Regions from separate parts of the Homo sapiens genome. Here all the other regions are linked to region 5. The links are contacts of gene promoters, found by promoter capture Hi-C in human tissues and cell types (Jung and others, 2019). All regions are on one chromosome and are shown on one strand. The core of a region is centred on a gene start or on the middle of the fragment in contact, and the rest is flanking DNA. Distances in the headings are between cores, read along the strand shown.

What was found. The method cuts DNA at HindIII sites, captures the fragments that hold promoters and counts their contacts. A contact is called where the count stands out against the background at its distance.
Region 1: a contact is called between the fragment with the promoter of JUP here and the fragment with the promoter of CNP in region 5, in 1 of the 25 tissues and cell types used here (liver).
Region 2: the fragment with the promoter of NT5C3B here is called in contact with the fragment with the promoter of CNP in region 5 in 1 of the 25 tissues and cell types used here (adrenal gland).
Region 3: a contact is called between a fragment that was not itself captured here and the fragment with the promoter of CNP in region 5, in 2 of the 25 tissues and cell types used here (lymphoblastoid cells and mesenchymal stem cells).
Region 4: a fragment that was not itself captured here is called in contact with the fragment with the promoter of CNP in region 5 in 4 of the 25 tissues and cell types used here (H1 embryonic stem cells, dorsolateral prefrontal cortex, heart left ventricle and 1 more).

Annotation. Positions count from the first base shown.
Region 1 is chr17:41,784,967-41,789,177 of GRCh38, reverse strand. It overlaps JUP (junction plakoglobin), which reads left to right and starts at 2,467. Exons shown (of 14, transcript NM_002230.4): 1 at 2,467-2,590. RefSeq lists silencers at 2,499-2,798, 2,963-3,175. The HindIII fragment of the contact is 40,774 bases long and covers 1-4,211 here.
Region 2 is chr17:41,834,982-41,839,726 of GRCh38, reverse strand. It overlaps NT5C3B (5'-nucleotidase, cytosolic IIIB), which reads left to right and starts at 3,495. Exons shown (of 9, transcript NM_052935.5): 1 at 3,495-3,545; 2 at 3,770-3,868; 3 at 4,455-4,524; 4 at 4,611-4,657. The coding sequence starts at 3,534. KLHL10 (kelch like family member 10) reads right to left here and starts at 1,902. Exons shown (of 5, transcript NM_152467.5): 1 at 1,601-1,902. The coding sequence starts at 1,794. RefSeq lists an enhancer at 2,892-2,971 and silencers at 3,392-3,771, 3,902-4,011. The HindIII fragment of the contact is 24,571 bases long and covers 1-4,745 here.
Region 3 is chr17:41,716,545-41,721,186 of GRCh38, reverse strand. It overlaps a transcript of HAP1 not described here and the pseudogene RNA5SP442. Among named protein-coding and RNA genes, the nearest start is that of GAST, 6.5 kb to the right of the region's middle. RefSeq lists a silencer at 3,436-3,730. The HindIII fragment of the contact is 4,495 bases long and covers 1,000-4,642 here.
Region 4 is chr17:41,803,585-41,807,972 of GRCh38, reverse strand. It overlaps P3H4 (prolyl 3-hydroxylase family member 4 (inactive)), which reads left to right. Exons shown (of 8, transcript NM_006455.3): 5 at 1-114; 6 at 1,094-1,177. Among named protein-coding and RNA genes, the nearest start is that of P3H4, 6.2 kb to the left of the region's middle. The HindIII fragment of the contact is 7,644 bases long and covers 1-4,388 here.
Region 5 is chr17:41,965,150-41,969,427 of GRCh38, reverse strand. It overlaps CNP (2'',3''-cyclic nucleotide 3'' phosphodiesterase), which reads right to left and starts at 2,633. Exons shown (of 4, transcript NM_033133.5): 1 at 2,541-2,633; 2 at 688-1,360. The coding sequence starts at 2,543. ODAD4 (outer dynein arm docking complex subunit 4) reads right to left here. Exons shown (of 12, transcript NM_031421.5): 12 at 2,925-4,278. The coding sequence ends at 3,945. RefSeq lists enhancers at 486-1,043, 1,044-1,601, 1,602-2,159, 3,261-3,360 and silencers at 2,131-2,320, 2,451-2,890. The HindIII fragment of the contact is 7,030 bases long and covers 296-4,278 here.

The DNA of each region.
Region 1 (4,211 bases), core at 1,218-3,717, 180 kb after region 5:
AGCTGTGGCCTGGCTACAGCTCTATGTGACAGGGTGACAAGCAGGTGGATGGGGCAGGGGTAAGGCAGGGATAAAGATAGGGAGGTAAGCTGGAGGATGGAGAGTTGAGGAAACAGGCAAAGGGCGGTGGCCCTGGTTATGGGATGGCCACTAGTTCAGGGATGTCCGTATCTCCCTGGCCCTGCTTTTGGATGGCGCAACTTCAGAAGGGAGAATGTTCAGCTACCATTCTTTTCTCTGGTGGGGAAAGTGGTCAAGGTTGCTGCTAAGGTACCTTCATCCAGCCCATCCTGTGTGCTAGCTTTGGGGCTGTAGAGCTTTGTTGATGGGGGACCCTTTTCTAAACCACCACTCCTCCAAAACCCACCCACACACGCTGCTTCTGCTTATCCTTCTATGAGCTCTTTGAAGGTTGGGATCATTTTTATTTCCTGTGTCACCAGGTTTTATTTTCTGTGTTCACCAGTGCCTAACATACAGTTGACAATGAATACTCAAGTGTTGAATGAAGGAATGTTTGTAGGGCCCTTGGCACACCATACAGCCACGAGCAGCATTCATGTCATCAACCACAGAAAGGAAGTGCCCTTGTCTTCTTAAGCTGCCTGTGAGAAGTCCTTTTTATTTTTTTGAGACAGAGTCTCACTCTGTCACCCAGGCTGGAGTGCAATGGCATGATCTCAGCTCACTGCAACCTCTGCCTCCCGGGTTCACGCCATTCTCCTGCCTCAGCCTCCCGAGTAGCTGGCATTACAGGTGCCCGCTGCCATGCCTGGCTAATTTCTGTATTTTCAGTAGAGATGGGGTTTCACCATGTCGGCCAGGCTGGTCTCGAACTCCTGACCTCAAGTGATCTGCCCACCTTGGCCTCCCAAATTGCTGGGATTACAGGCATGAGCCACCACGCCTGGCCGAGAAGTTCTCTCTGATCTCTACCCCAGGCTCTCCTATCGCAGAGGGGTGTGCTGCCCGGTTTATTTTTTTCTTTTCTTTTTTTTTTTTTTGTTTGAGATGGAGTCTCGCTCTGTCATGCCCAGGCTGGAGTGCAGTGACATGGTCTCGGCTCACTGCAACCTCCGCCTCCCAGGTTCAAGCAATTCTCCTGCCTCAGTCTCCCAGGCAGCTGGGATTATAGTTGCCCGCCACCACGCTCGGCTAACTTTTTGTATTTTTTGTAGAGATGGGGCTTCACCATATTGGCCAGGCTGGTGTTGAACTCCCGACCTCAGGTGATCCACCCGCCTTTGCCTCCCAAAATGCTGAGATTACAGGAGTGAGCCACTGCGCCTGGCCTGCCCCGTTTCTTTCATGCCAGGGCTGGATTTCCTTCAGATCTGCTGCTTGATGTTTCCAAGCCCACCAAAGCCTCCTGACACCAATACTGTATTTTTGTGCCAATTAATTGTTCTGTCTCTCCTCCAAGTGTTTGTGCCTTTTCTCTGCCCCTTCCCCATTGCCTTGACATTTTATGTCTATGCTCCTCTTCCATGAGGGGAACAGCTGGTTTGATGGTCCTTCAAATGAGAGGAAGGAGGTTCTAGCTTGGGGTGTGCCACTTTGTAGTTTTGTGACTTCTCTGAACTTCGGTTTCTTCATCTTTACAATGAGGGTCGTTTTCTCATCCTAACTATTTTTCAGAGCTGTCACAATAATTAAAAAAAAACATACCGTTAATTTAAATTTCTAACCTTTAGCAGTTTCTGAGTGCTTTCACAAACCTGACCTCATTTAATCCCCACATACTCCAGTGAGGTAGATATGGCTAATGTATCCAGTTTACAGAAGAGGAGAAACAGGGTGAAGTAACTTGCCTAAAATCATACCAAGTGGGAGAAGACCAAACCTGGCCTTCTAATTCTAAATCCCAGGAGTACTCCATCTTTCGGGAAAAAAATCCCACCCCAGCACAAAGCCTATGAAATGCTATACAAATATGTGATTACTACTTTGGGGCAAGGATGAATAAGCCCAAAGAAGCATCATGCCTGACGCTGAGTTGGCTGGCCGGTGAAGGCGTCTGTCCCTTCCCTTGGTATCCCTATGACTTACCTGTTGGACAGGTAGGGGGAAGGGGAGAGTAATGAGTCTCACCTGCTCAGAGCAAGGGTGGGGCAAGACACACCCCATCCCTTCCATTGGTTTTTTCCTTAGTCTTACTGACAGAGCCTTGTCCAATCAGGAGGAAGTAACTTTCTATCTGCCAATAGATGCAATGTTAGGATGAGACCTCAAGTTAGAGTCCATCCCTAGAGCCGACTGGCAGTCCCCGGGGCCAATGGCAAGCGGATAAACAGAGGCGGCCGTGGAAGAGGACTGGAGGCGAGGCTCCGCCCCTCCACGGGACAGTCAGGCGAGATAGCCAGTGAGCTCGCACCAGAGGGTGGGCGTCTCCCCCAGGGGCGGAGCTTCGAGGTGGCGAGGGGCGTGGCTTGGCTGTCAGGTCTCTTCGCCTTTTGTTCGGTTACTGAGTTGCTGCCTTGGCCAGAGTCCGGAGCAGCCGCCGCCCGACCACGCCGAGCTCAGTTCGCTGTCCGCGCCGGCTCCCACCCCGGCCCGACCCCGACCCGGCCCGGTCAGGCCCCATACTCAGGTGCGGGCTATCGGGGGCGCAGGTATCGTTGGGGACAGAGGGGTGGCGAGCGGCCGCGGGGCCGGTCCCAGCCGTCCCTGGGCAGGTGAGGGCCGGTGCCATCGAGCGCCACCCTGCACCGGCGGCAGGGGGCGCGCTGGGGTCCTGGGCGCGGCGACTTGGGGGTCGCGCGGTTCGGGCCGAGCGCGCCTCGGAGCTCCGCGAACCAGAGATCTGAGCAAGGCGGGGAGGGATCCGGACAGGTGCCTCCGGGGTCGCGCCTCCCCCGGGGCCCGCGCAGCTCGCCCGACGCCGCGTCCCTGACTCTCGCCCTGGGCTGGCGGGGGAGACTTTGCTCTGCTTCGACTGCGTCCCAGGGCTCACGCTGCAGTCAGGAATTTACCGTTTGGGGAACTTGCTGCCGCTGGTCTCTTTGGGGCCACCCTCACCCCACCCCACGCGTCATCCTCGCTTTCCCTCCCTCCCTACTCCCCCAGGCCTGGGTGGGGCCCTATTGTTTGCGCCCAGCTTGCCCAACTGTGGGGGCCGAGCGCACATTTTCCCAGCGACTCTGGCCCCACCTGCCGAGCAGGTGAGCGCACGGAGTCCAGAGGCCCTGCCCTCCAGCTCCCAGAGCCTCGTCGATACTACCTGCGGCGCCTCCCTCCACGCCGGTGGGAGCCCGGCTCTGGCTTCTTCAGCGGAGGTGGGATGGAGTGACTGGGGGGTGCAGGGCTCGGCTCAGTGTCCAGCTGGTGTCTGGCACCCGTGGCTCGCCCTGGGGTCTGGGGGGTGGGGTCTGTGCACGGATGAAGAATTCAGGGTCACCTGGCCCAGTTTCCAGTAGCTGTGGCTGCCAGAGTGTTGGTAGGGGAACAGGACCCGTCTTCTCTAACCTCTTATTGTTGGAAAAAATCACCCAAAACAAACTTTGCAGGAGGAAGTATTCACAGCAGCTTTATCTGGGGGTTTTCCCGTCTCCTTGCCCAAAACTTCCTTTAGGCTTAGGGGGTCCTTCCTGGTGCAAAACCCCTTCCCCCAGCCGGCCCCTGGCTGAACCTGGGCCGGTGCCTGGGCTCCGACCCTGTCTTCCCTGCCCCCACATTCATCCTGTTCGCTGGGCCCCAGGGGCCTGAGGTAGGGGCCGGGGTGGGGGGTGGAAAGTGCTGAGAGGGGAAGCAGCTTCTTCCTTCTCTTCCTGCCTCCTGGGACCACCACACCCCCTCAGACAAGGCCTGCGTAAGTGGTTGTCTCTCAAGCTCTGCCCCCTCCCCAGGAATGGGGGTGGGGCAGGGCTGGGCCAAACTGAGGAAGGTGGGGGGAGTGGTTGTTCTTGTCTTTTTTTTTTTGCCTCTACCCCATCCCCCACATTACTTAGCTGGCTGGTTATTGAGGCAGAAGCGCATGAGGCTGTGGGACTTGCCTTCCATTTGATTTCTGAATTGTGAAGGTGCATGCTTTCTGGAGGCCTGCACAGACCTTTCCCACCCGCTTTCCTGAAAGAATTTGACAGGGAAAGTGAGACCGCAGGAAGGCTTTTTGGGGGAAGGTTTCTTCAATGCTAGACTCTCTCAGGCAGAGCTGCATCGGGCCCCCTGCCTTCCCTGCTCCCAATTTCCTGAGACCGCCCCCCCCCACCCAG
Region 2 (4,745 bases), core at 2,246-4,745, 130 kb after region 5:
AAATAAAAATAAAAAATAAATTGTGGACTCTGCTCTGTGGTCTACCTGAATGAGAAGTTTTAGCAACAGGTAGGACACATTGATCATATCTTCATTGGAATTGATTACTCAAACATTTTCAGCTCATGAACAAAATAGCCCTTCTACCTCCTGGGTTACAATGGTTTTAGCCCAAACTCCCTTTTTCTTCTGATATTTCCTGGGTATTTCCCCCTCATCTCCCTTCCCATCCCCTTAATCCTTGTTAATTTATCACCCTGTTTGAAATGGTCTCTATTGGGATAGGGGTACAGGGGGGTCCCTGAAGTGGCATTGTCATCTGAAATCCAGTAGGGATGTCCAACCTTCCCAAAGGTTGGTTTGGGTGAGAATCAAAGATTAAAGCACCTGGCCCACCAATAGTTGGTTGAAATCCAGTTGAAAAATCAGACCTTAAAGGCTGGGTGCAGTGGCTCATGCCTGTAATCCCAGCACTTTGGGAGACCAAGGTGGGTGGATCACGAAGTCAGGTGTTCGAGACCAGACTGACCAACATGGTGAAACCCCGTCTCTACTAAAAACACAAAAATTAGCTGGGCATGGTGGCGGGAGCCTGTAATTCCAGCTACTCGGGAGGCTGAGACAGAAGAATCGCTTGAGCCTGGGAGGCAGCGGTTGCAGTGAGCCGAGATCACGCCACTGCATTCCAGCCTGGGGGACAAAGCGAGACTCCATCTTAAAAAAAGAAAAATTGTATCTTGCCAGGCGCGGTGGCTAATGCCTGTAATCCTAGCACTTTGGGAGGTCAAGACGGGCAGATCACCTGAGGTCAGGAGTTTGAGACCAGCCTGAGCGACATGGCAAAACCCTGTCTCTACTAAAAATACAAAAATTAGCCGGGCGTGGTGTCAGGCGCCTGTAATCCCAGCTACTTGAGAGGCTGAGGTGGGAGAATGGATTGAACTGGGGAGGCGGAGTTTGCAGTGAGCCGAGATGGCGCCATTGCACTCCAGCCTGGGTAACAGAATGAGACTCATCTCAAAAAAAAAAGACAAAAATCAGATCTCTCAAGAGCAAAAGGAAAAAAAAAAACAAAACAAACAAAAAAAAAAAAGAGAGAAAAAAGGCCCTGACCCTAGTCATGCCTCTTCAGAAGGCAAAGGAGCCAGGCAGGAGCTCCTGCCTGGACCAGAGTTGGCCAGGCACAGTGGTAATCCCAGCACTTTGGGAGACTGAGGCAGGAGGATCGCTTTGGGCCAGGAGTTCAAGACCAGCCTGGGCAACATAGCGAGACTCCCTCTCTACAGAACATTTCAAAAGTAGCCGGACGTAGCAGCATGTGCCTGTAGACCTAGCTACTTGGGAGGCTGGAGTAGGTGGATTGTTTGAGCCCAGCAGTTGAAGGCTGCAGTGAGCTATGATTGCATCACTACACTCCAGCCTGGGTGAAAGAATGAGAGCTTATCTCTAAAAAAAAAATTTTTTTTTAATTTTTAAGGAGCCCAGAGCTTTGACAGTGTCCCTAAAGTTAAGGTGATGGGGTGGGAAACAGAAAATGGATCAAAGTGTCTCAAAATGAGCCCAATTACCCCTTTGGCTGAATTTGGCAACCCTGTTATACCTAAAGTAGGAACTGCAGCTACAGAGGATGTTCTTATGGGCACTGAACTCAAAGCCATTGACCTTGATGACCACGTCGCAGAGCTTGCCCTCTAGTCTAAGCTCGTTGAAGATCTCACAGGCCATCGCACTCATCTTCCTCTCCATGTGAGGCTGGTGGAAACGTGTGGAGGCCGCCGCGCTCTCCATCTCCATGGCACCCTGGGACAGCGGAGAGAGGCTGCTTTCCTAGGGTGTCGGGGAGGGTTGTGGGGGGCCCCTTTAGCCAGCTGTCGCTCCTTTTCCCTACTACATCTTTTGTATAGGGTCTATCAGGCAACCCAAGTTCCAGAATCCTGGCCCTGCAGTGAGATCACACAGGATTGTGCTCTCAGGTTCTGGAACTGCCTCCTGGACTTGTCCTCTTCCTTCTCCCCTCCTTACCACCCCACTTAGGCTGAAAACCACCTCACACCTCCTTCTGTGTCCTTGAACCCAAAACAGAACCATGACCACTAGCACCATCTGAGTGTTTATTGATTCCAGCTCCTGTTACTCACCTGATACAGGTCTCTATCCCTGGAGCATTCATCTACCTTCCACAGCCCAACACTTGGCTCCCTAGACACCGAACTCAAGGAAATCCAAGTCAATTGAGGCTGAAGGGAGAAGTAAAACTGATTAAATTTCTTTCTTAGGCCGGGCGCAGTGGCTCACACCTGTAATCCCAGCACGAGGTGGATGGATCACAAGGTCAAGAGATCAAGGCCATCCTGGCCAACATGGTGAAACCTCGTCTCTACTAAAAATACAAAAATTAGCTGGGCGTGGTGGCACATGCCTGTAGTCCCAGCTACTTGGGAGGCTGAGGCAGGAGAATCGCTTCAACCCAGGAGATGGAGGTTGTAGTGAGCCGAGATCGCTCCACTGCACTCCAGCCTGGCGACAGAGTGAGACTCCATCTCAAAAAAAAAATCTTTCTTTTTCTAGGGACGGGTCTCGCTCTCTCACCCAGGCTGGAGTGCAGTGGTGTGATCATAACTCACTACAGCCTCGACCTCCTGGGCTTAAGTGATCCTCCCACCTCAGCCTCCTGAATAGCTGGGATTACAAGTGCTCCGCACCGTGCCCAGCCAACGCTGATTACATTTCAGAAAGCTGTCCCGGGTCTCCCAGCCCGCTGGATGGGTTAGTCACTCAGTTTCTTCTGGAATGAGGAATGGCCTAGTTAACAGAGCCCTTTCTGGGTGATTAACAGAATTCAGTTTATGGCTCCTTCATCTCTCCTCCCATCCAGCCGTGTGGTTTTTCTGTTTTTGTTTCTGAGACAGGGTGTCATCTGTCACCCAGGGTGGAGTGCAGTGGTATGATCTCGGCCTACTGGAGCCTGGATCTCCCGGGCTCAAGTGATCCTCGTGCCTCAGCCTCCCGAGTAGCTGGGACTACAACAGGTGCGTGTCACCATGCCCGGCTAATTTTTGTATTTTTTGTAGAGACAGGGTTTCGTCATATTGCCCAGGCTGGTCTCGAACTCTTCGGCTCAAGCGATCATCCTGCCTCGGCCTCCCAAAGTCCTGGGATTACAGGTATGGGCCACCGCGCCCAGCCCCAGTCATGTTTTTGTCACAAACTTTCAGCCTGGAAATGACCACGTTTGGCAAGGCTTTTCCTCCACAAAGAGTGGCAGAACCCTACCTACCCACGTAACCCCAACACCTTGGGACCTTCACCCTGCTCTTCATAATAAATAGAACCCTCCTCCAGTTTGCCTAGCGCAACCGGCAAGCCCACCCGGATCGCGGCCATCTCCGGGACCGCTCGATTCTCGGCCCCACCCCCGCCCCGCCCCCGGCCCCACCAACCCCCGCCCGGGCTCCAGGCGGGAGGCGACGCCTGCGCAGTGCGGTCGCGGGGCTGTCGTTGTCCCGCGAGCCGCCGACCAGGCCTCGAACGGGATGGCAGAGGAGGTGAGGAGGGAGGAAGCGTCCGGAGTGGGGCGGGCCCGGACTCCGACCCCCGGGGCGCTTCGAGCCCCCCAGCTGGTCACCGAGGCACCGCCGCTTCACCCAGGCCAGTAGCCGCCCCCTCGCGCACCCCGGCCCCGCCTCACACGCGCGCCCGAGCGAGCCCCGGGCTCCCCTCGGGCCCAGCGTGGCGCAGGGGTCAGTGGTTCTCTCGGGTCTCGGGACAGGTGAGCACCCTGATGAAGGCCACGGTCCTGATGCGGCAGCCTGGGCGGGTGCAGGAGATCGTGGGCGCCCTCCGCAAGGGCGGCGGAGACCGGTTACAGGTACCTCTGGGGCGTGCGGGGGCCGGCCGGGCTGGGGGCGGCTGGAGAGGCTTCCTGCCCATTGGGCCTTCCCGCTTTGCTCTGCCGCGGACCCCTCCTAGCTCTCTGCCCCAAGAAATGGCCGGGAGCTTGAAGGAGAGCGGGTTGGTTCGCCTGTCCTAAAACCCAAATTTCAGATTTCTCAATATGGTCATGCTGCTTCCTCTAATTGGACAGAAGGCGCCCACACCAGTACCTAGGGCCTTATCCTCCCCAAGCCAGCGGCTCCCCAGTAAGTTGAAGATGTCCAGATGGGCCGTAATGGTAGAGATCTCTTAGGAGGGACCTGATATTGAAGGAGTCAGAGGGGTCCTGAGTATTCACCCTTGCCCCCACACTAGGAGACTGCGTTTTCCTCAGGGTTAACGGGTACTAATTAGGATCACTTCCCCTCTATCCCTCTGTGTCACTCGGTAACTCCCCTAGGGCTTTGCCTACATCCTGGCCACTGAGCTGTATTGATTTCCATAATCATCCCCCAGGCTGAGGCAGGGCCACACTAGAATTCTGGTGCCTATTTAGGCATCATCTCTCTTTTGCCTTATAGGTGATTTCTGATTTTGACATGACCTTGAGCAGGTTTGCATATAATGGAAAGCGATGCCCTTCTTCTTACAGTAAGTCACATTCTAGCTTCCCTTGTTGAGCTTGACAAGACGATGGGTTCTAAGGGACAAGTAAAAGGAGTTTTCTCTTTTTCCAGATATTCTGGATAATAGCAAGATCATCAGTGAGGAGTGTCGGAAAGAGGTGGGTTGCTCCCGTCCTTTGCTCAGAAATGGTTGTCATTTGCTACTTCAAATGGTTCCTGATTGGAACCAAAGATTCCAGTATAGAG
Region 3 (4,642 bases), core at 1,998-4,497, 250 kb after region 5:
GAATATCATTGAGAAGATTATTGCTGTGGCTAACCGGGTCTCAGTCCTGCTGGGAACTCTGGGGGACAGTAGAATATATCTCAGAGTAGCCTGGGTGAGGTGGCTCACACCTGTAATCCCAGCACATTGGGAGGGCGAGGCAGGTGGATCACCTGAGGTCAGGAGTTCGAGACCAGCCTGACCAATGGAGAAACCCCGTCTCCACTAAAGATACAAAATTAACTGGGCATGGTGGCACACATGCCTGTAATCCCAGCTACTCGGGAGGCTGAGACAGGAGAATCGCTTGAATCCAGGAGGTGGAGGTTGCGGTGAGCTGAGATTGCACCATTACACCCCAGCCTGGGCAATAAGAGTGAAACTCCGTCTCAAGGAAAAAAAAAAAAAAGAATATATCTCAGAGTTATCCCACCCCTTGGGTGGGGGAGCTGGGGTATTTATCCTCTAACTGTCATCTGACACTGTCTGAGAGATGCTTCTGGAGGCATTTAACTGCCCTGCACTTGGCCCTGAAGGAAATTAGAATGTGTTACCTCCAAATATGCCACTTTGGCATAAGGACTATTTTGAGCTGAAGGCAATTGAGAAGAAGCAGATACAAGAAAAGCTCCCTACCCTCCTATTTGCATAAAAACAGGACATACATTTTCAACTGTGTCCATCTACCAGGAAGGATAAAAGTTAAATCTCTGGGCTGGGCACGGTGGCTCATGCCTGTAATCCTAACACTTTGGGAGGCCGAGGTGGGTGGATCACCTGAGGTCAGGAGTTCAAGACCAGCCTGAGCAACATGGAGAAACCCTGTCTCTACTGAAAATACAAAATTAGCCAGGTGTGGTGGCACATGCCTGTAATCCCAGCTACTTGGGAGGCTGAGGCAAAAGAATTGCTTGCACCTGGGAGGCGGAGGTTGCAGTGAGCCGAGATTGCCCCATTGCACTCCAGCCTGGGCAACAACAGCGAAACTCTGTGTCAAAAATAAATAAATAAATAAATAAAGCTGGGCGCGGTGGCTCATGCCTGTAATCCCAGCACTTTGGGAGGCCAAGGTGGGTGGATCATGAGGTCAGGAGATCGAGACCATCCTGGCTAACACGGTGAAACCCCGCCTCTACTAAAAATACAAAAAATTAGCCAGGCGTGGTGGTGGGCGCCTGTAATCCCAGCTACTTGGGACGCTGAGGCAGGAGAATGGCATGAACCCGGGAGGCAGAGCTTGTAGTGAGCCAAGATCGTGCCACTGCACTCCAGCCTGGGCAACAGAGTGAGACTCTGTCTCAAAAAAAAAAAAAAAAAGTTAAATATCTGGAGACAACTTTATTTTTTATTATTTTTTTGGTTTCCATAATTTGGACTTATTTTATTGATACTCATTAGTGAATAAAATGTTGATTTTTGATGCATTACAATACACTTTTTGGTAGTGGTTGCACAATGTTGATCATTTATTTGTTTACTAAATACTGCAATCTCCAAATTGCCTTTTTTTTTTTTGAGACAGAGTCTCGCCCTGTCTCCCAGGCTGGAGTGCAATGGCGTGATCTCAGCTCACTGCAACCTCTGCCTCCTGGGCTCAAGCAATTCTCCTGTCTCAGCCTCCTGAGTAGCTGGGATTACAGATGCATAACACCATGCCCAGCTAATTTTTGTATTTTTAGTAGAGACAGTGTTTCACCGTATTGGTCAGGCTGGTCTCGAACTCCTGACCTCAGGTGATCCGCCTGCCTTGGCTTCCCAAAGTGCTGGGATGACAGACGTGAGCCACTGCGGCTGGCCAAATTGCCAATTTTTACATGGTATTTCTGGCAATGATGGTGGCTCGTCTCTCTGAATACATAAAATGGTCCATTCAATCCATGGTTTTCATATTCCTTTGTTATTCTATCTACTGCTTTAAAATACATTCAGGCTGAGTGCAGCGGCTCACACCTAGAGAATCCCAGCACTTTGGGAGGCTGAGGCGGGTGGATCACGGGGTCAGGAGTTCAGGACCAGCCTAGACAACATGGTGAAACCCCACCTCTACTAAAAAGTACAAAAATTAGCCTGGCATGGTGGTGCCTGCCTATAATCCCAGCTACTTGAGAGGCTGAGGCAGGAGAATCGCTTGAACCTGGGAGGTGGAGGTTGCAGTGAGCTGAGATGGCACTACTGCAATCCAGCCTGGGTGACAGAGCAAGACTCTGTCTCAAAAAAATAAAATACATTCAAATAAAAAAATATAAGTTACTTGCAACAAGTGCACACTTAGAACAGCGAGGAGAGCTGAGAACATAATTAACCAGTACTCTTGTGTTCAGAGCATAAATAGTCTGAAACCGTGGGACTGAAGCTTGCTCCTCATAGACTTTCTCCAAGTATCCTTGGTGGACGTAAGGTTACCCTCACTCAACGGAAGGACACATCTGCTGCTGTGGTGGGAGGACACAGAATGACAATTTCATTTACGTAGGACGTTTTCCTTCCATAATGTCTGGAACAAGTCGGAGACAACTTTAGACCCCTTTCAGCCTGGAGTGGCACCAGTGCAATCTAATAACAAACTTGACTCACTAGCCTTTATCTACCATTCGTTTTCCATATAGCTGCTTTCCCATGCACAGTTAGCCACCCTTGGAAGTCTAACCTAGGCTGGAGCTTGGGGGCCTGGACCTCAGCCCTCTTCTGGGACAGGCGGTAGGAACCCCAGCCCTTGTTCTGCAGCTGGCACAAGAGCTGTGACTGCCGGATGTGGGTCACATGGCAGCCCAGGGGGGCAGGAGAAGCCGGGGGAGGCCCACTGGCTACCAGACCCAGCCCTGAGAGGGGACAGGGCTCAGCTCCCACGGGCAGAAAGCTGTTTCCCACACACAGTTAGCCACCCTTGGAAGTCTAAAAATTGCTGTCCTTTATCTTGCCTACAAATGTATTGTTCTTTGTTGAAGATGCTCTGTGAGCCTGAATTCTCCCATCTGAGTACTAACCAGGCCCCACCGTGCTTAGTTTCCAAGATCAGACAAGATCGGGCGCGTTCAGGGTGGTATGGCCGTAGACAGTGTGAGCCTGAATTCTAAGCTACCTCTCTGAGTTACTCAACTCTGGGTACTCTGTGTGTTAAATGTGTGATACACATGTTAATAAACTTGTTTGCTTTTCTCTTGTAATCTGTCTTTTATAACAGAGCCCCAGCCGAGGACCTAAGATGGGTAGAGAAAACACTTTCCCTCCTCTACAGCCCTCAGGTGGCGGGTAGCTCAAGGTAATGGTGTCAACAGGCACAAGAACAATGATGGAATGGAGTGAGACACCAGCAATGCCTGCACCAGCCACTCATGAGCAATTATTTACAAATATTTATTGGGTTCCTCCTATTCTTGCCACCGGGGATACAGAAGGGAGGAGGGACTTGTCACGCTCCCAGTTTCCTGTTTTGCCCGAGAGGCAGACAATAAACTGGCAAACAAAACAACTACAGATTGTGAAATGTGTTCTAAAGAAAATATTCTGCTATTGTGAGACAAAGCAACAAACATTAAGAAGCTGTGTTTGCTCCTTTCTGCTTGTCGGCACAGTTTCACAAAGCACCTGACTCTGTGACTAGAGACAGACGTGCAGCCCTCCGGAAAGATGCTTTGAAGACAGCACAGGAGAGAGCCTGAGGCCCTCCCATGTCTCTTGGCTGAGTCACTACTTTTCTTTTCTTCTTCTTTTTTTTTTTTCTTTGAAAGAGAGTCTTGTTCTGTTGCCCAGGCTGGAGTGTCATGGCGCAATCTTGGCTCACTGCAACCTCTGCCTCCCGGGTTCAAGCAATTCTCCTGCCTCAGCCTCCCGAGTAGCCAGGACTACAGGCACATGCCTGGCTAAATTTTGTATTTTTAGTAGAGACGGGGTTTCACCTTGTTGGCCAGGCTGGTCTCGAGCACCTGACCTAAAGTGATCCACCCTCCTCGGCCTCCCAAAGTGCTGGGATTACAGATGTGAGCCACTGCGCCCGGCTTGAGTCTTCACGTTTCTTAAAAGAGAAATAATCCTAGTCCCTGGCTTTTCTGACACAGAACATTTCCAAGATGACATCTGACGAGGTTAGTGATGATGCCTCTGTGATCTAGGACCCAAATCTTGCTGTGATTCTGCTGTCATGTAATTCTGAGCAAGTCTGATGGGATTTTGCACATACGGAACCTCCACCTTTAGCCCCCAGATGTATATAAGCAATGGGCTGAAACATTGTGCCAGAGCCTGCTCCTGGGCTGGAGGCCTCAATCTATAGTCCTCTGTAAGACTTCTGAATACAACTAGCATTCATTCTTTAAAAAGCTTAATTTTTTCTCTTTTATTTGACCCTGTGGTAGAGAATAACTGGGTCTATGTGTGAAGGGTGAGGAGCAGAAAGGGTAGGTCTCTCAGGAAGAGGCATTTCACCCAAGAGCTAAGGAGGAAAGGGGAGCCCACCATATTTGTGCCTGGGGAAGAGCGTTGCAGGCACAGGGAATGGCAAGGTCGGAGGCTCTGAGCAAGAGAGAACATGGCGTGTCTGTGTAAGGGAAAGGACCGAGAGGACAAAGAGAAGGAAGCCACTTGGCGCACAGTGGGAGGAGAACCTCAGGGCTAGCTTTCAGGGCTGTGGCAGGGAGTTCAGGTTGTATTCTAAGTGCACTGGGAA
Region 4 (4,388 bases), core at 1,078-3,577, 160 kb after region 5:
GCCAGCTACATGCTCTTCGACCCCAAGGACAGCGTCATGCAGCAGAACCTGGTGTATTACCGGTTCCACCGGGCTCGCTGGGGCCTGGAAGAGGAGGACTTCCAGCCCCGGGAGGTGGGCACTGCTTTCTGGGGCACTTGCTGGATATGCACTTTGTAAAAAATGAACTCCTGGCGGCCGGGCGCGGTGGCTCATGCCTGTAATCCCAGCACTTTGGGAGGCTGAGGCGGGTGGATCACGAGGTCAGGAGATCAGGACCATCCTGGCTAACACGGTGAAACCCCGTCTCTACTGAAAAGAAAAAAAAATTAGCCAGGCATGGTGGTGGACGCCTGTAGTACCAACTACTCGGGAAGCTGAGGCAGGAGAATGGCGTGAACCTGGGAGGCAGAGCTTGCAGTGAGCGGAGATCGCGCCACTGCACTCCAGTCTGGGTGACAGAGCGAGACTCCGTCTCAAAAGAAAAATAAATAAATAAATAATAAAAAATAAACTCCTGGCTTCCATGGAAGGCAGGATGGGAAATGGAAAGAAAGAATATGAGTTGAGGTTAGAGTCCTGGCTTCAGAGCCCAGCCCCACTGCTGTGTGGTCCTGGGAAGACCATGGCCCTTTCCTAATCTATTGCCTCACCTGCAAAATGGCAGTGATACTGCCACCTCACCAGCAGTGTCCAGACGAGGGAGGTATGAAGGTACACATCCACTCCTACCTGCTCCCCTCCCTACCTTCATTACCCTCACTGCTGACCTTTGTCCCTCTTTCCCAGGAACACCCTAGGTAACCAATGGAGGAAATCTGTTGGAGTTGAGGGCCAGGCTGGCAAATATGGGGCACATGGTGCCACTCCTGCCTTCCTTGTCAGTGGCAGACATTGCTAATCGATTGAGGGACTCTTTGTCACCAAACTCTCAGAATCCTTAACCCAGTGTTCCAAGCAGCCACGATGATCTGATGAGCTTGTGAGCTGATACCTATTCTCTGATCCTTGAGCTAGAAGAGGGCCAGTGGGCCCAGATCCTAGGAGCCCTGGCTTCTTGCCATCTGGCAACAGGGTATGGCTCACCCCCCACCCCGTCCTTCCCTCCTTCCAGGAGGCCATGCTCTACCACAACCAGACCGCCGAGCTGCGGGAGCTGCTGGAGTTCACCCACATGTACCTGCAGTCAGATGATGAGGTGAGTGCCTCCTGCTTTCCAGGATTGGGCTGTGATGGGGACACCTTGGACCTTTTCCTGGGGCCACCAGTGTGCCAGAATTCAGCCCCAGCCCCTGGTGGTCAGCTGTCGTGAAGAAGAGAGGTTTGCCTGTTCCTTGTCTAGACTGTCCGTTCCTTCCCCAGCCTTAGTATTCTCATGTCCTCCTTTTGTACATGTCTCAATCCTGTTCCTCCCAGGCCCAGCTCACATGGTGCCTCCTCCAGGAAGCCCTTGCTGCATGCCCTGGCTCTTTGTTCTGGGCTAGCAGTGCCCACTCTGACCTGTGTGCCTCCCTGGCCACCTGTGGCCTGGACCTGGGTGATTGCAGCCCTCGTCCATCTCAGCCCTGGGCCCCTTCTCCAGCCAGTATCCAGGAGAACCGCACTGCAGGACACAGGGCCACATTATTCCCTGTTCTCCCACATCCTGCACAGAGCCTGGGCTCAGAAACTGAGTTTGAATGAACCAGTGAATGAATGAATGCAGGACCTCAGGACAGAAGGACCGTATTGTATTACATTGATTTATTTTATTTATTTATTTATTTTTTTTTTTTGAGATGGAGTCTCGCTCTGCCGCCCAGGCTGGAGTGCAGTGGTGTCATCTCAGCTCACTGAAACCTCTGCCTCCCGGGTTCACACGATGCTCCTGCCTCAGCCTCCGGAGTAGCTGGGATTACAGGCGTGCACCACCACGCCTGGCTAATTTTTGTATTTTTAGTAGAGACAGTGTTTCACCGTGTTGGTCAGGCTGGTCTCGACCTCGTGACCTCATGATCTATCTGCCTCGGTCTCCCAAAGTGCTGGGATTACAGGCGTGAGCAGCCGCACCCGGCCCTATTAACATTGATTTCAAGTGAGGGTTTGACAGCCTTAATTTCTCTGAGGTGTTGCTGCTCAGTGCTCATTTATGTATCCTCTCCTTTGTTCATGCCCCCACGCCCCCACCCATCCAACCCCAGAGGAGGAGGGCAGAATCTACACCGTCAGCACCCAGGATGAGGAACTAGCCAGACCTGGCTCCATTACTTACCAGTTGGGTGGCCTCCAAACAAGTGTCAGGCAACCTCTCAAGCTTCTGTTTCTTCATCCATTGAATGGGGAGAATCATGCCCATCTCACATTGTTGTGGTGAGAATAACACAAGATCTGGCCGGGTATGGTAGCTCATGCCTGTAATCCCAGCAATTTGGGAGGCCGAGGCAGAGGGATCACCTGAGATCAGGAGTTCAAGACGAGCCTGGCCAACATAGTGAAACCCTGTCTCTATTAAAAATACAAAAATTACTCAGGTGTGGTGGTGGGCACCTGTAATCCCAGCTACTGGGGAGGCTGAGGCAGGAGAATGGCTTGAACCAGAGGCAGAGGTTGCAGTGAGCCGAGATCGCGCCACTGTACTCCAGCCTGGGTGACAGATTGAGACTCTGTCTCGAAAAAAGAGAAAGAATTAAGTGAGATCAAGTATGTTTTTTTGTTTGTTTGTTTTTGAGACAGAGTCTCGCTCTGTCGCCCATGCTGGAGTGCAGTGGCGTGATCTCAGCTCACTGCAAGCTCCGCCTCCCAGGTTCTCACGCCATTCTCCTACCTCAGCCTCCCAAGTAGCTGGGACCACAGGCGCCTGCCACCACGCCCGGCTAATTTTTTTTGTATATTTAGTAGAGATGGGGTTTCACTATGTTACCCCGTATGGTCTCGATCTCCTGACCTTGTGATCCACCCACCTCGGCCTCCCAGAGTGCTGGGATTACAGGTGTGAGCCACCACACCCGGCCTCAAGTATGCATTTTTCTTTTTTTTTTCTTGGAGACAGAATCTCACTCTGTCACCCAGGCTGGAGTGCAGTGGTGCGATCTCTGCTCACTGCAACCTCCACCTCTTGGGTTGAAGAGATCCTCCTGTCTCAGCCTCCGAGTAGCTGGGATTACAGTCATGCGCCACCATGTCCAGCCAATTTTATTTTGTATTTGTAGTAGAGACAGGGTTTCACCACGTTGGCCAGGCTGGTCTCAAACTCCTGACCTCAAGTGGTCCGCTTGCCTCGGCCTCCCAAAGTGCTAGGTTTACAGGCGTGAGCCACCGCTCCTGGCTGAGATCAAGTATGTAAAGCACTTGATAAAGAGCCAGTACCTGGTAGGTGCACAGTGAATGACAGCCGAGTCTCACTCTGTCATCCAGGCTGGAGTGCAGTGGTGCAGTCTCAGCTCATTGCAACTTCCGCCTCCCAGGTTCAAGCGATTCTCCTGCCTCAGCCTCCTGAGTAGCTGGGATTACAGGCGTGTGCCACCATACCCAGCTAATTTTTGTATTTTTAGTAGAGACATGGGGTTTCACCATGTTGACCAGGCTGGTCTTGAACTCCTGACCTCAAATGATCCACCGACCTCAGCCTCCCAAAGTGCTGGGATTACAGGTGTGAGCCACCACGCCTGGCGTATGGCAGCCATTTTGACGGCTGTCTCTTATTTCCTGTGGTTTGCCAGACACCAGACTAGGGGCTGGAGTAAGTTAGTGAAAGTCATGGTCCTGGCGGGGCACGGTGGCTCACACCTGTAATCCCAGCACTTTGGGAGGCCAAGGCGGGCGGATCACGAGGTCAGAAGATTGAGACCATCCTGGCTAACACGGTGAAACCCGGTCTCTACTAAAAATGCAAAAAATTAGCCAGGAGTGGCGGCATGCGCCTATATTCCCAGCTGCTGGGGAGGCTGAGGCAGGAGAATGGCGTGAACCCAGGAGGCAGAGCTTGCAGTGAGCCGAGATCATGCCACTGCACTCCAGCCTGGGCAACAGAGCAGACTCCGTCTCAAAAAAAAAAAAAAAAAAGGAAGTCATGGTCCCTTTCACGTGCCGCTCACAGTCTAGTGGGGGAAGCACAAACTGCTGCTGGAGAGGGCAGCACACGGCACCAGGGGAGGTCTCCAGCCCAGCCAGAGTCACCAGCAAGGGCTCAGCCTGGAACTGATGCCTGGCTTTGGAGGGATTAGTGCGGGCTACGCAGGCACAGGGGACAGCAGTAGTTCCTGGCAGGGAAACAGTATGAGCAAATATTATGCATGGACTAGCAATATTCTTGCCAGGGTCTTTATGCTTAAAAGGTGGGGCTGTGCAGGGGCGATGTTTATGCTGACACCAAATTCTGCTGGTGGTGCCCTATGCAGCCACTCAGGGAGGGGCAGTTTGGGAAAAATCCT
Region 5 (4,278 bases), core at 1,384-3,883:
GCCCATGCCAAGAGAGAACCCTGCTAGAGTGGCCAGAGTCCAGGGTTCCAGCCCGTAAACCCCACATCCCTCCTGGGTCCATGTTTTTCCATCTGAAAACGGGTTTTGGCCTAAGTGTGAGACTTGTGTCCTCTGGAGCTGCAGATGCCACAAACCCATGAGTAAATTGAGCAGTCCGAGGCCTGAGAACCATCCCCAGTGAAGCCACAATAGTCCTAGTTTTAATTTTTTTGCAGCTTACAATTTCATGTGATTATTATTATTATTTTTTGGAACATGATTCTGCTGCTAAAAATGCGTTGGAAAACACTGGGCTTGATTCCCCCTCTAAGGTTACATTAGAAGAGGACATGTTTCCTGTTACTACAGTAATTTGTTTTTCCCACCTCCAAGACAAGGGACAGTGGTCTACATTCAGGCTGGGAAAAGGGTGTCGGAGAGAAGAGGGCTAGAAGGATAGGTGTGGTGGGAGGAAAGGCGCTCTGGGAAGCCCCCGTGTTCCCAATGTGCTGCCAACTCCCCAAGGCTACCACTGGGACGCACCGCTTGCCCCTGCCCCCGCTGAGGTGAGCCTCTCTCTGCCTCCTGCTGCTTCGTGCTCCATCCTTTGAGTACAATGATGGTCCTTTGCCCGCAGCACCCTGTGCCCAGCAAGGTGGGCTTATAAGGCCCCAACCTGCCACCTACATTGTCGCAGCTCCTTCTTGAAGGCCTTGTGGTTCCCCAGCTCTTCCAGGAAGACCTGGCCGGCTTTGCGGAGGGTCTCAGAGCTCTTCTTGGTCAGGAACCAGCCGAAGTAGAGCGGCAGGAAGTCCTTCTCCAGCCCAGGCTTCAGCTTCTTCAGGTCATCAGCCGACAGCTGCCACTGGTTCTTCTCCTTGAGCTGGGCACAGTCCAGCCGCCACGCCGTCTTGGGCTCCACCAGCACCACCTGGTACTGGTACTGGTCGGCCATTTCAAAGAGCTGCTCCAGCCGTTCCCGTTCGTGGTTGGTGTCATCAAGCACAAGAATTCTGATGTCCCGGCGGCGGCAGTAGGCAGCCAGGTCCTCATCGAGCCGCTTGTACTCCTCGGAGAAGGCTCCTCGAGCGCCGGGGGTGATCTTGTAAGCGTCAGCCGACACCATCTTGGTGCCATCACGGTACTTGTCCACGATGACCCGTGCCAGCGTGGACTTGCCGCTTCCTGGCAGGCCGCGCAAGATGAAGAGCGTCTTGCACTCTAGCAGCGTGGCCACTGTGTCCTCATCCTGAAGGAAGGGAAACTGCAGCTCAGGCTTGTCCTTGGCCCCTGAGGATGACATCTTGCGGAAGAAGATCTTGGGCAGGAATGTGTGGCTTTTTCGGGAGAAGCCTCTGTTCTGTGTAAGGAGGGGAAGAGATGTCAGCCCAGGTCATTCGCGGGCTCCCCGCCGGCCTTACCCCTAGTCCCTAGACTGGTTGTGGGTGCCTTCCCAAGCGGGGCAGTGCTGGACCTTCTTTCCCTTTCGGTCCGGGAGCACCTTTCCGCTTCTGGTCGTGGAGGAGGAAGAGGGAAGCTTGTCTGAAGCTCTCCTAAGCGTGCGCTTTCCCCATTCCTGCCACTTCGGAAAGGTAAACGTGCTGGAGGCATGCGGGGCGCGCCAGGAGCCTGCGGTTCTGGGACTGGCCTCACTCTTATATGCTTGGCACCTACTAAGGACGTCCTCTTTGGAGGTGGGGGTCTCTGTGTCTGGGCCAAGCCACAGCTGCCACGGCTGAGTGCACAGAGAAGGGGGGGAGTGGAGAAGGGTTACCCCAAGACTGCCTCCCTTCCCCCAACAATGGCCGCAACAGATAATACTCTCTTGTCTGGCATGCGGGTACAATGGTCCCACAGAAGGGCTGGTGGGGGGCAGGGCAGGAGAGCACTGGACAAAGGCCCTCTTTCACCAAGCCTGCCACCTCCTCCTCTACCCTCTCCCGGCCCCCACAAAGTCGTGGTCTTTGTGCCTGTCCAGAACAGGGCAGCACAGGGCACCTGCAATTAGGATCCAGCTCTACCCGCCGCTGTGCTGTGTGTCAGAAGCGCCTCTCGGAGCCACTTGTTTTCCTATCTTCTAGAAGCCACAAGGGACGGCAGCTTTTACCGTAAAGGGTCCCCTCCTCTGAACTGGCTCCACCTCCCGCCCGCACCCGGGCGCGGGGCAGCGGTTCCGCGTGATGAGACTGGGCCCGGGGAGGGGGCGCCGAAGCGGCTGCCCCAGCGCGGGCCTGCGTGGGGTCGGGAGCAGCTCCCGGGCTCCCGGCCCAGGCCCACCCAGGCTCCCAGAGGCGCAGCAGCTTCTGCGGTCCCGAGTTCCCTCCTGAGAAACACCACCGTTTCCCTTTACAGCGGCCTCTCCGGCACCCCAAAACCCCTCCGCTTCTCCCAGACCTCAGGGCCGCCCTGAGTACCAAGAAAACTGGAAGTCGAACCCGGAGCCCCGGGTCCTCGTTTGCAAGACGCTTCCTCCCGAGGGGCCCCGACACTCGTTTCCCGCCCTGGTGCTACCCCGTGCCCGGCCCCGCCCGGCCTCTCACCATGATGAGGAGGGGCGCCACCGTCGCCGCCTCTGCCGGCACCAGCGCTCCGGGGCCGCCCGCCTGCGCGGAGGGACACGGGAGTCCAGCGGTGGCACGACCCGAGCCCGGCCGCTTTACATAGCCCGGGGGGCGGAGCGGGCACCCGGGCGGGCTGGGGGCGGGCCGTCTCCTCTGCGCGCAGGCGCTGCGAACCAAAACCCGAAACTCTCGCCGCGCGCGGGAACCTCGGCCCGGTCCCGCCCCCTGCGCGCGCCTGCTCCCCACGCGCACCCACCCACTGCGCCTGCGAGCTGAGCGGCCACTAGCTTTTTCTGCGTGTTGAGGGGTAACTCAGTCACCCTCCCCGGTCCCGTGGATTAGCAGGAAGTGAGTGAGGCAGGGTCGTGCAAAGTCGGATCCTGTCTTTAATTTTTGATATTTTATTCATCATGGACTTTTGCATTAATTAAAAACTTTTTTTTTTACCACATTGGATTAAAATATTATCATGCAATTTGCTGGCATTCCGGTAAACTCTGCATCTGAAATGCCTCACTGGCCTCATTCGTCCAGGCCCTGTGCCAGCCGAAAGTCAGTCTCAGCCCCGACCTTTCCTTCTAGGAGCTGTGGAGACAGACCAGGATGGCAATGGCCAAAGGGACAGATGAGTAACGGAGTGAAATCCTAACATCCTCTGAGGCCAGATCCTCAGCTGCCACCTCCTCTGTGAAACCACTGAGAGCTCCGTTGGATTTTTGAGTTTCCTGTCCAAGTGCTGTGCTAAGCACTCAGTCCTCGCAGCAACCCCTGAGGCAGGTATCCCATTGTTCAGAGGAGAAGCCAGCTTGGAGAGCCTGATTTACCTGATTATGCCACCCAGAGGTGTCAGAGGCGGAGTCTGTCTGCCCTCCCGACTCCCAGGCCACTCCCCTATCTTTGGCCTCACTCCCAGCATTCGCTTGGTTCTGGCTTGCGGCATTCTCCTACCTGTGACAGCTGGGGCCGCCCCACCACTGTTCCATCCATAAAGCCTCCCCGCTGTCCTGCGCACTGGAGGGACTCAGTCAGTCACCGGTGTGTGGGAAGCACCTCTCCTCCCAGGCCTTCCCCTCTCCTCCCTGTGACTTCTTGTTCCCTGTAGCGCCCGTATCTTCACCCTCCTGAAACCCTTTCTTCTTGGCACCTTTCTCATTTCTTCCACGATGCTCTTCCAAGAATGGGCAGGGGTGAAGAGGCAAAGTGACAGACTCAGGGTTTGCAAGAGTGAAAGACACCTATTTAATGGCAAAATAGTGATGGAAAGCAGCAGAAGTAAAACCCTCATTTTTCCTATAACAGACAAATCGCTTGAAAATCCAGTTTAATAAAATCCCATGATCCCTCTGAACACCAGCTTCCTGATCCTCATCTCTACCGATGGCTTCATTCATATTCCTTTTCCATCTCATTTCCTGTTTTTTTCGTTTCTCCTATTTCTCCAAATTGTGTTTTTCCCAGTTCTTCTGGCTCTCTTCTGCCCACTTCTGAAAGTTTCTTTAGTTCTTCTGGTTCCTGTCTGCTGAATTCTCCTGAGAGTCTTTGCTCTAATTCTCCCGAAGGCCTCCTATAAATTTCTCTTGACTCTCTTCTGCCAGCTTCTAGTAGCTTCCTGCCTGTTTCTCCTGATCTTGTGCCTAATTCTCCTGACAGGCCCTTGGCAACTGCTCCCAAATCGCTTCTGGCTTTTCCTGCTTCCACACTCTGCTTTCCGCTTGCT